Linked DNA regions of Homo sapiens: regions 1, 2 and 4 are each linked to region 3. The links are contacts of gene promoters, found by promoter capture Hi-C in blood cells and fetal thymus (Javierre and others, 2016). All regions are on one chromosome and are shown on one strand. The core of a region is centred on a gene start or on the middle of the fragment in contact, and the rest is flanking DNA. Distances in the headings are between cores, read along the strand shown.

Evidence for each region. The method cuts DNA at HindIII sites, captures the fragments that hold promoters and counts their contacts. A CHiCAGO score of 5 or more calls a contact.
Region 1: a fragment that was not itself captured here is called in contact with the fragment with the promoter of DHRS7B in region 3 in 3 of 17 cell types (naive B cells, total CD4 T cells and naive CD8 T cells); the score reaches 7.8 in naive B cells.
Region 2: a contact is called between a fragment that was not itself captured here and the fragment with the promoter of DHRS7B in region 3, in 4 of 17 cell types (total CD8 T cells, fetal thymus, naive B cells and 1 more). The highest score is 7.5, in total CD8 T cells.
Region 4: a contact is called between a fragment that was not itself captured here and the fragment with the promoter of DHRS7B in region 3, in 1 of 17 cell types (M0 macrophages). The highest score is 5.2, in M0 macrophages.

Annotation. Positions count from the first base shown.
Region 1 is chr17:21,485,714-21,488,413 of GRCh38, forward strand. No RefSeq gene overlaps it. Among named protein-coding and RNA genes, the nearest start is that of LINC02693, 65 kb to the right of the region's middle. The HindIII fragment of the contact is 210 bases long and covers 1,246-1,455 here.
Region 2 is chr17:21,546,159-21,548,858 of GRCh38, forward strand. All of the region lies in intron 1 of LINC02693 (long intergenic non-protein coding RNA 2693), which reads right to left. Among named protein-coding and RNA genes, the nearest start is that of LINC02693, 4.2 kb to the right of the region's middle. The HindIII fragment of the contact is 818 bases long and covers 994-1,811 here.
Region 3 is chr17:21,125,550-21,128,249 of GRCh38, forward strand. It overlaps DHRS7B (dehydrogenase/reductase 7B), which reads left to right and starts at 1,415. Exons shown (of 7, transcript NM_015510.5): 1 at 1,415-1,442. The coding sequence starts at 1,423. RefSeq lists an enhancer at 1,077-1,736. The HindIII fragment of the contact is 14,531 bases long and covers 1-2,700 here.
Region 4 is chr17:21,419,874-21,422,573 of GRCh38, forward strand. No RefSeq gene overlaps it. Among named protein-coding and RNA genes, the nearest start is that of KCNJ12, 45 kb to the left of the region's middle. The HindIII fragment of the contact is 7,786 bases long and covers 1-2,700 here.

The DNA.
Region 1 (2,700 bases), core at 101-2,600, 360 kb after region 3:
CTTTTTTGAGATGGAGTCTTGCTCTGTTGCCCAGGCTGGAGTGCGGTGGTGCGATCTCAGCTCACTGCAACCTCCATCCCCTGAGTTCAAGCAATTGTCCTACTTCAGCCTCCTGAGTAGCTGGGATTACAGGCACCCCGCACCATGCCCAGCTAATTTTTGCATTTTTAGTAGAGGCGGGGTTGCACCACATTGGCCAGGATGGTCTCAAACCTCAGGGAATCCACCTGCCTCAGCCTCCCTAAGTGCTGGGATTACAAGCCTGAGCCACCACGCCCGGCCGCAACTTTTAAAGTGTCTGAAATTACATCAAAATAAAAGATAGGAAAAATTAGAGAAATTAATGTAGACAAGGCAGATATCTCAACAGCCACACAACAACCATGGAAAGATTTATTTATTTATTTTGAGGCAGAGTTTCACTCTGTTGCTCAGGCTGGAGTGCAGTGGTGTGATCTCAGGCTTACTGCAACCTCCACCTCCTGGGTTCAAGGGATCCTTCCATCTCGGCCTCCTGAGTAGCTGGGACTACAGGCATGCACCACCACACCCGGCTAATTTTTGTAATTTTTGGAGAGACAGGGCTTCGTCATGTTGCCCGGGCTGGTCTCAAACTCCTGAGCTCAAGCGATCCACCCACCTTGGCCTCCCAAAGTGCTGGGATTTCAGGCATGAGTCACTGCACCCAGCCAGGTTTCTTTAATATACTGAGGAAATATAACTGTCAACCAAGATTTATCTGCTTACATAGTGATCACTCAAGATTATGAATTGAATCAAAACCTTTTCAGGCAAAAAAGAAGACTTGAAGAGTTCATGGCTAAGAGAAATTGCATTGAACTAAGTAGTAAGGATGTAGTTGAAGGAAACCAAAATATTTCACCCCATAATATATTTGGACACATTTTGAGATGGCTGTTTAGAGGGGCCTGCAAACAGAAGCAGCCCTGCAAAGCTGTCTTTTGAGGGGAAGGTTTGCATCTGTAGAGAATCCGCACTGACGCAGGCAAGTTTCCTCTGAAGCCTTCCCTTGTCTGGATCTAGGAAGGAGTCCCTCACAGTCTGACATATTTAGCCATCAGAAAGAAACATTTACCATCTATTCTCTCCGAGGACTGCTGTCTGTGTGGTTCTGTCTGCATTCTGAGACCACCTTTGCCAGCCAGGCCTCCTCCTCCCTCTCCCCTAACCTGTCTTGCTGTCATCCCAGCCTCTGTTCCTTCTGTAATCTCAAGGCGGTAAATAAGCTTCTGCACACCATTGTGGGGTTGGGATCATCGCTCTGGTCCTTCTCCATCTGCACATTAATAAACGTGCATGCCATTTCTCCAATTAATCTGACTTTTGTGAGTTGATTTTTCAGTGAACTTTTCAAGGGCAAAGTGGAGGTTTTCTTTTGGCCCCTACAGTTTTGGTGTCCTGAACAGAATACCAAAGCTGCTTTGCTCTTCTGGAAGCTTCAGTCAGGGGACCCAGGACCTGACAAGCTGGCAGAAGGGTAACAAATTCTTACCAGCCAGGCTTCTGGCTGGTCTCTCTGTGGAATCCAGGTGAGCAGATGGTAAAAATCAGTCATTTTTCCTCTGCAAGATGTTGATTAGTGTGAGAAAGGATCTGTGTGAACAATGTTGGGTGCAGCGACTCTGGTGTACTTTTTGGTGTGAATATTCATATTGTTTAGTGCCCTTCCTTCCAGGAGGATTCTTCTCCTCTGTCTTGGTCTTCCTGTGTTCTGTCCTGAGGAGAGGACTTGTAGGGTAGAATGGGGGCTGAAGATCCTGCCAGCCCATTGTTCAGGCCAGACCTGAAGAGCAGCCAGTCTGCGGCTGAGATCAGATGGGCATTCAAACTTTGCTGTGGGTCCTCAAAATAGAAGCCAAGCCAGGTGCGGTGGCTCCCAGTCCTTGGGGAGGCTGAGGTGGGCAGATCACTTGAGGTCAAGGGTTCAAGACCAGCCTGGCTGACATGGTGAAACCCCATCTCTACTAAAAATACAAAAATTAGCCAGGCATGGTAGCGAGCACCTGTAATCCCTGCTACTCAGGAGGCTGAGGCAGGAGAACCACCTGAACCCAGGAGGCAGAGGTTGCAGTGAGCCAAGATCATGCCACTGCACTCCAGCGTGGGTGACAGAGTGAGAGACTGCGTCTCAAAACAACAACAAAAACAAAATAGAAGCCAGATGAGGACCCCTCTCATCTTGTTTTATGCCCTGGAGTGTTTGACTTGTGACAAGTGGGAGCACTGTCTCTTGTTTCTACCATCTGGGGTGTGATTTTTGGGTCCCATCAGGTGTTCAGTCTGAAGATGCCTGGGAACCTGAGATACAAGGTTTTAGGCAGCACACTTTTTGCTCTGAATGTGTCCAGCTGTTGGGAATGTTTGTCTTAATAAGAAGTCCCATCCATAAGGAATTTTTGTGGTCTGGCCCTTGTTGCCTGGATAGTCCTGGGAAAGTCCCATCCTAGGAGAGCTGTCCAGTGTCATGAATTAAGGGGTCTTTGATGGGTGTCCCCAGAAATGTGTGGGTCACCAGAGGCACTGTGTACACAAACACCATCCTAACCATGTGTGGCAACAGAGTCCGTTGCTTTGCAGGGACGTGGATGGAGCTGGAAGCCATTATCCTCAGCAAACTAACACATGAACAGAAAACAAAACACTGCATGTTCTCCTTTATAAGTGAGAGCTGAACAATGA
Region 2 (2,700 bases), core at 153-2,652, 420 kb after region 3:
GGCACCTTCTATTCTGCTGTCATGGCCCAGAGCTCTGTTCATCTGCTTCAAGCAGCTCTCCACCCCGCTTCCTCCCTCCCCTCCTGCTGGATCTCTTTCTTTCATTGGTTCTTGTCCCGTTCCCTCAGTAAAAGAACTCTCCTTCCAATCTGCCTCATTCACATTCACTTGGGAACCAAAAATTCACCCCACAGCTTAGTATTCCCAGTTGTGGAAAAATTCAGGCACCTTCTGGATGAGACAAATGTGAAGAAGCCAGACATGAAAAAACACTTATATGGATTGATTTATATGAAATGCCCAGGGAAGAAAAATCTATTGAGATGGAAACTAGATTTGTGATTGCTTACAGCTGGGGTAGGGGTGGGGGAACAGGGTGATAGCTAAAAGGTACAGGACTAATAAAAATGTTGTAAACTTAACCATGGTTTTGGTTGCACATATCTGTGATTATACTAAACCCTAGCAGATCATAAGGTATGTGAATTTTTCCTCAATAAAGCTGTTTAAAAATAAAAAAAAAATTAGGCTGGGCACAGCAACTTACCCTGTAATACCAGCACTTGGGGAGGCTGAGGCAGGAGGATTGTTTGAGGCTAGGAGTTCAAGACCAGCCTGGACAATAGAGTGAGACCCCATCTCTACAAAAGATTTAAAAAATTTAGCCAAGCATGGTGGTGCGCACTTGTAGTCCTAGGTACTTAGGAGGCTGATGTGGGAGGATCACTTGAGCCTGAGAGGTGAAGGCTGCAGTGAGCCGTGATCATGCTACTGCAATCCAGCCTGGGAGACAGAGAAACATCCCAACTCAAAAAAAAAATTATTACGAACTATTTTATACATACAAAATTACACAGACACACACACATACACAGACTCACATAAAAGTAAAATAAATACATTGTACCCATCACCTGCACCACTACATTTGAAGCCATCTGCATGGTTGGCCCTTCTGAAATGTAACCCCATCTGGGACAATCATTCATCTGAAGCTTTACAAAAAGTATTTCCCTGACTTTCATTATACTTTTATTACATAATAATATCTCTAAATAATATATTGTTTCTCTAAATAATATACTGTTTAACTTTGTAAGTTTTTACACTTTCTATAAATGTGCTGTGTATCTCTGTAACTTGCATTACTCATTCCACATTGTATTTTCGAGAGCCTTCTATGTTTTAAGTAGTTTCTCATTCAATTCTATATATTGCTTACTAATTAGCCTTTAAATTGAATATACTAAGACCTGCTGGAGAGAGAATTCTTGTGGGATAATGAGTATAAAGTGCTTAAAGCAGTGCCCCATTCATTATAGGTATTCAATATATGTAATACTATACACAATATTTTAATACTGAGTAATTATATACATATTATGATTGCTTGTTTCTTTGTGGATGTACATTATTTCATCAACTGCACTATGAACTAATAGTTTTCTTTCTTCTAGGGGAGGGGGCGGGGTCTGGCACTGTTGCCCAGGCTGAAGTACACTGGTGCGATCACGGCTCACTGCAGCCTAGACCTCCCGGGCTCAAGGATCCTCCCACCTCAGCCTCCTGAGTAGCTGTGTCTATCAGCAGTGCCACCACTCCCAGCTAATTTTTAAATTTTTTGTAGAGATGGGGTTTCACCATGTTGCCCAGGCTGGTCTCTAACTCCTAGCTCAAGTGATCTGCCCACCTTAACCTCCCAAAGTGCTGGGATTACCGCTGTAAGCCATTATGCTGGGCAAGAGTTTTCAAACTACGGTAAAATTCAAGTTACAGATACCTTTGGGAAATGCCTCATTCTAAGTATTTGAAGCTTCCAGATAGCTAAGATTAAAAATTTTTACATACTAACTTGTTTCTAAGTGTATGCTTTTACATTTAAACAAACTAAAAACATAAGCTTTATAAAAAAATTTCAGCCATTTCCAAATTCTCTTCCAAACTTGTTTAGAAACATACATGACAGAGCTTTGGTCGGATTGTGCAAACTGTTGTGTGTTCTGTTTTTAAAATATTACTTAACTTGTACACTTCCACACATTGGCATGGCACATCATTGCCATTTCCAATACGTTCCTGTGCTTCACCAATTTCCATAGCTGTCAGAGGGAGAGCAGCCCAGGTGACAGGAAATGAAGTTGTCTGGCTCCGAGTCCTTACTAGGAGGACTTCTGGGATCCAGAATCTTTGCATGGGGCAGATGACATATTCTTAGAGGCCATTCATTTTTTCCACTGTAGCTGCTAGTGCCAGTTTCCACTCCACTGCCTGAGGGCAGGTTGATCTTGTAAGCCATCACCGATGGATTTGTGGTCACTGCCTGGAACCCTGTGCCAAAGAGGACTGGGAGGTCCCATTCAGGAGGGAATCCTCTGACTTATTACTGGCATCTGAGCATCTCCCAGCATGGCTGTTCCTACTTGTAATAAGGTGATGTCAAATGACTCCAGGGCAGTGCTCCGGTTCCCATGAACACATCTGGTCACTCTGGGAGCTTTTGAGTCAGTGAGCTCTCTCCTCACATCCCGATACACTGTTGTTTGCAAAAATATATTTTTATAGGCAAGGTATTTGTGTTTTGGATTTGCACCCTGATGCAGGCATTAATTTGTTTAAAAGGATAATTTAACATTTTCAGGAAGCTGAACATCTTTAAATTCTCTTTTGATTATTTCTAGTTTTATTGCATTATGACCCAGA
Region 3 (2,700 bases), core at 165-2,664:
AAGTTCGGGTTTTCCTTTTGATTTAGTTCTAGGAAGTCAGCGTGAATTGGCCTTAGGTTCCCTGTCTCCAGACCCTATTTTTCTGCCTTACGGTTCATATTGGGTTTGCTACAAGGATATTCAAACTTTGTGAATTGGCAAGCAGGAATCTAGAGTTTCCAGAACAATGGAGAGGGGCCAGAAAGGTATAAAAACTTTTGTGAAAACGTCAAAAATAAATATTTAGTTAAAAATAAAATTTCCCATTTTCAGATTTTGTGAATATCTGTAAGAATTTCCAGGATATATTAATTCGCTAAAGTTAATAAAAGCAAGAAACAGAAGGACGTTTCAGAATGCTATTGTTTGTGTAACAAGGGGGTGCTGAATACATACATAATTGCTTGGTTATGAATAAACTGGCTCTGGAAGGACACACATAGCTAATAGCATCGTTACCTAGGGGGAGGTGAAGTGGGTCCTGGAGAACAGAAAGGGAGATTTTCCACCTTACACACATTTGCCATCTTATGATTTTGAACGATAAGAGTCCCCCCGCCCCTTCCTTCCTCTGCCCTGCCCCTTCCTTCCTCTGCCCTTTACTCTCTCAATATCCTCTTTTCATGCTTTTTTTTTTTTTTTAAATCACTTCGGGTCCTTTAAAAAATTTACTTGCAAGAAGTACGTACATATTCTGAATAAAATTCATTTTCAGATATATGTATTACAAATATCTTGTCTGTTCTATTGTCTTTCCCTTTTCTCAATGGGGTCTTTTCGGTGTCTTATAGTTACAGACACCCAATTTATCAGCTTTTTCCTTTAGGACTGGCACTTTTTGTGTTCTGCTAACACGTTATTTTCCTCTCTTATGGTCATAATATTCTGCGATTTTATTGTCTAGAGTTGTATTGTTCACATTCAGGTCTACCATCCGTCTAGAATTATTTTACTTGAGATAGGAGTCAAGGTTCATTTCCCCCCAATCGACCTTCAATTGACCTAGCACTATATATTGAAAAAACTCTTCTTATTGCATTACAGTGGCTACTTGTAGGAGGAAAAAGTGACTACATAGCTGCAGGTCTGTTTCTGGTCTCTCTCTTTTTCATTCATTGTTTTTACCTTTGTGCCAGTTATCACACTGTTCTGATTACTGTGGCATTATAATCATCTTGATAACTGTATCGTGAATTCTCCAACTGTGTTCTTCGCCGGAAGTCCACGGAACACCAACCACGACCTTCGGAATTTCCCTCCGGAAGATGAAGGCACTGTAGTTATGCGGGTGGACCCTATCAGATCTCGGGTCCATCGGGTCCTGTGTACACCTTGAGGGACGCCCACCCAACGCGCATGCGCAGCCTCAATGCTGGGATTGGACGGAGCCTCGCCGGCTGCGTACACGTCACTTCCGAGGCGGGAGGATGAAGTTGATTGACTATGGTCTCTCCGGCTACCAGGTAGGGGCTGGGGAAGAAGGAACCTCCGAGATGAGGCGATAGGGTCTGGCCTTGAGCTGAGGCGACGCCCCGGCTTGGGTGAGGGGAAGCGGTGTAGTGGTCGAGCTAAGGCCGCGGGCCCTGGGCGGCTTCCGGATCCCCGCGACGCCGAACTCTGAAGGAAGACTCAGCCCAGGCGCTGGGACCAGAGCCCTGGCTCCGGCGAGTGCGTGGCGGGGAAACCCGCCTGTCGCCGAGGTGTCTTGAGTCCAGTTTCCGCTGCTGGGAATGGGTGTCGCGCCGGGCGCTGTGTGTGAAAGGCCTCGCGCCCACAGGGCTCCTGGCTTCAACCTGTTTATTCCCACATTTCTGCGCGACGTAGGGGAGGCTCCGCAGCGTCTGCGAGTGGCAGGACCGAGGGTTGAGCGCTGGGGGCCAGTGGCACCTTAGCCAGTGACGGCGAGTTAGGACTAGCAAAGGAAGTCCGGTTTTTCAGAAGGCAGGAGGAGGGTGCTGACTCGAGCGTCCACGGGAATGGCTGGTTGAGATATCTTGCTCTTCCAATACTTACTCTGCGGCTTCCTGGCTGTGCGGCTTTGGGCAAATGTTTTAAACTCTGAGTGTTTCTTCAGCTGTAACTTTGGGAGTAACAAGCCCACTCATAAGGTTGTTGTGAAGCGTAAATGAGACTGCGCGTGCAAGGTGCTCAGCTGGTGTCTGGCACATAGTAGGTATTCAACAAATGGTAGCCACATAATGCTCTTTTTTTCAGTTTCCAAACCTTCCATGTAGTGATTGGAGAATCGTGAAGTTACTTTTGAAGTAACGTTTGGGTTTCACACACTCATACATTTAGTAAGCAGAATTCTTGCTTACACTGTTGCCGATTGCAACGGTGTGTTTGCATAATGGAAGCTATGTTTGTGCCTTTGCCAAGGGTGTGGAATATGCCTTCCCTACCATGTACATGTCCCCTTTTCTCCATTCCTTAATAATAGTTGATATTTTTTGAGTGTTTGCTATGTTACAGGCACTGTACTAATCCCTTTACTGAATTATTCAATCCTGTAATAACCCTAATCATAGGAACTATAATTTTTATTTATGGAGGGAGAAATGGGCTTAGAGATGTTAAGAAGTTTATCCAAAGGCATAGAGCTATTAGCCAGGCAAGGTAGCACACGCCTGTAGTCCCAGCTATTTGTTGGGGCTGAGGCAAGTGGATTGCTTGAACCTGGGAGACAGGCTGCAGTGAGCCGAGATCACGCCATTGCATTCA
Region 4 (2,700 bases), core at 125-2,624, 290 kb after region 3:
CCCCTGTGTTGAGATGTGTTTTCTGAAGTTCCCCTGCATGGCTCCACAGCGTGCTGGGCGTCCGCCCGGCTTCCTCAGCCTCCGCCTTGGGTGGGGGTTTCCTGGGGCTTCCTCATGGGTGAGGGTGGGGCATGGTGGCAGCTGTTGGGAGATGGAACAGAACTCAGCCTCCTTGCAGCTCCCAGTGGTCTCCAGCAAGCACACAGGGCTTGTCCCATGATGTCACCCATCCCAGGCGGCAGGGCCGAGCCTCCTGCCTTCCCTTCCTTCTGCAAGGATGTGCTGGGTGCCTGCTGTTGCAGCAGCGCCCTCCCCAGCTGGGGGAGGCTGACCTGAGACAGGCAACTCCTTTCCCAGGAGGGGAAGCCCTGCTCCAGCTTGTAGCAGGCAGGGGCTGAGGAGGAGTTTCAGAGCGTGCCAATGTCTCCACTGAGGTGACGAGACAAGCCTGGAGTGGGGTGAGGGAACACACACGGCCCAGTTTTGGGAAACTAGACTTTCATCTGTACCTTGAGGCTCAGCCCCAGATCTCCAAGGTCTTCAGCAGGGACTTGTGGGGAGAGAATTCCTTCCCTTCCCAAACTATGTGAGTGGAGAGTTCTCCACTCCTCTGCATCAGCAAAGGACTCAGGGCACCCTCTTTCTGCAGGATTTCGATGATGATTCCAGACAACCCCGGATAAGAATCCCCTGCCTGAGTCATTCCTGGGTGATGGTGCCGTGCATGGCAGAATGTGGAGCAGGGGCTTGGGTGCCAGGGCCTAGGGGGTCATGAAGGCTTCCCAGTGGGAGCTCCCTTGGGTTGGACTTGGGGTGACCCGGGGACCCTGGAGGTGGCTTGGTTTGGTGGGGACCTCCTTTCTGACTCTGGGGCCCTCCTGGGACCCCAGTAGCAGGATCAAGGCCAACTGGGGCCAAAACACGGTAGCATCTGTCTTCACTCAAGCCCTCCGGGCCATTCCCATGGCGCTGACTGGTAGGCATGAGGCCCTGGCCCCAGTTGGTGCTCAACAAATGCTTATCGTAGAGTCTCCAGGTGCGCTGTCCTGGCTGTACTAATGCCGCAAAGGGCCCTGGGTCAGAATGCAGGCCACTCATTTGCTGGGGGACCTCCTGTGAATTCCTTTCCCCCTCCAGCCTCGGTCTCCTGATCTGCAAAAAGGGGGTGTTCATAAGAATGGCCAGCTCACAGGTTTGTTGGAAAGGAGGAGAAAGAACCCTGACATAGTGAGTGCTCCTCAGTGCCTGCCTTCTGCTAAGTCAGATTGCACTGGCACTGCCCGCCCTCCTGAGGGGCACCCGGAGGTGCTGCTCTGGCTCAAGGTCACAGCAAGGAACACATAGCCCAGGCCTAACCCCAGGTCTGCGTGACTTCCATGCACTTCCCTGCCTCTCCAGGGATGATGTGAGCCCAATCCAGAATCTGCTTTAAAACAGGTAGAGCTGGGATGGGGGTGGAGAGCTTGTGAGCGTTCACTGAGCGCCTGCGAGCTTGATGTTTGAGGTCTGTCAGGCCCCACCCTTGATCTTGGGCTGGCCCGTGTCAGCAGGCCTCAGAGGCACTGCTAACCTATTTTAGAGGAGGTTGGTCGAGGGAAGCTAAGGGACTTGCTCGAGGCCCCCACAGGGTAGTTCCTCAAGCTGGGATCTAAGCCAGGCCCTGGGCCCTTCAGTCAGTTGACCCAGATGCTGCCACCCTGCTGGGCACTGGACACCTCAGGGCCTCTGCCTGCTGGTGACCAGGGCTGGGCTGCGGTCTCTGCCAGTGGAGGGGTGCCCCAGCTGGGGCCTGCCCTGGACTCATCTCCACTTTTCCCTTCCTAAAACCGGTCTGCAGGGAGGACCCCCACAACTTGGGAGGAATCACAGCCCAGATCAGAGCTGCCTGTGTGCTCCCCAACAGCAGTGGGGGCCCCAAGGACACATCGGACCCCCTTCAGCCCACTCTCCACCCGGCACCAGAGTGGTCTTCTTACAACCAGAATCAGGCCTTGCAGTTCCCTGCCTGAAACCCTCCCTGGCTTCTCCTTAACACTGGCAATAAAACCCCAGCTGCTCCTTGCCCGCTTCACCTCTGCAAGCCCGCCCCGTGCAGCCCAACCTTCCCTGCTCTCACTCCTGCTCCTGCCCCTCTGCTGCAGGCACCCTGTCCCTTGGTTTCCCTGACATTCCACATGTCCCCCCACCCCAGGACCTTTGTGCGTGCCTTCCCTCTGCCTGACACTTTCCCCTCAGGTCTTAGCAGACCCAGCTCCTCAATTTTCGAGTCTAGGCCTTTCCGGACCCAGTGCGAGGGATGGCAGATGCTCCCTCTGGAGGCAGCGGTCACCCCCAGGCTTGCAGTCTGCTGTCCTCACCAGGCTGCGAGCTCTGCGGGGCAGGGACTGCCGTCTCGGTCCCCGCTGGTGCCCAGCGCCAGGAGCAGGGCATGGAGGAGCTCCATGTGTGCTTGGATGGGGGGTGTGGGCCCTGCAGGCGTCTCTCCCACACAGAGGGCTCTACAGGTCTTGCCACCTGAGGCCCCCTTTTTGCTGAGCCAGACAGGATGGGGCCCAGCCACCGGCCACACCCAGGGGAGAGCAGCCCAGCCTGGGGTAACTGGAACTGGGAACCAGGAACAGAGCGGACAAGGGCTTTTGTGCTGAAGGCGATTTGAGCCCAAGGAAGGCTCTGGGTACTCCACCCGCTTTCCTCCTCGGT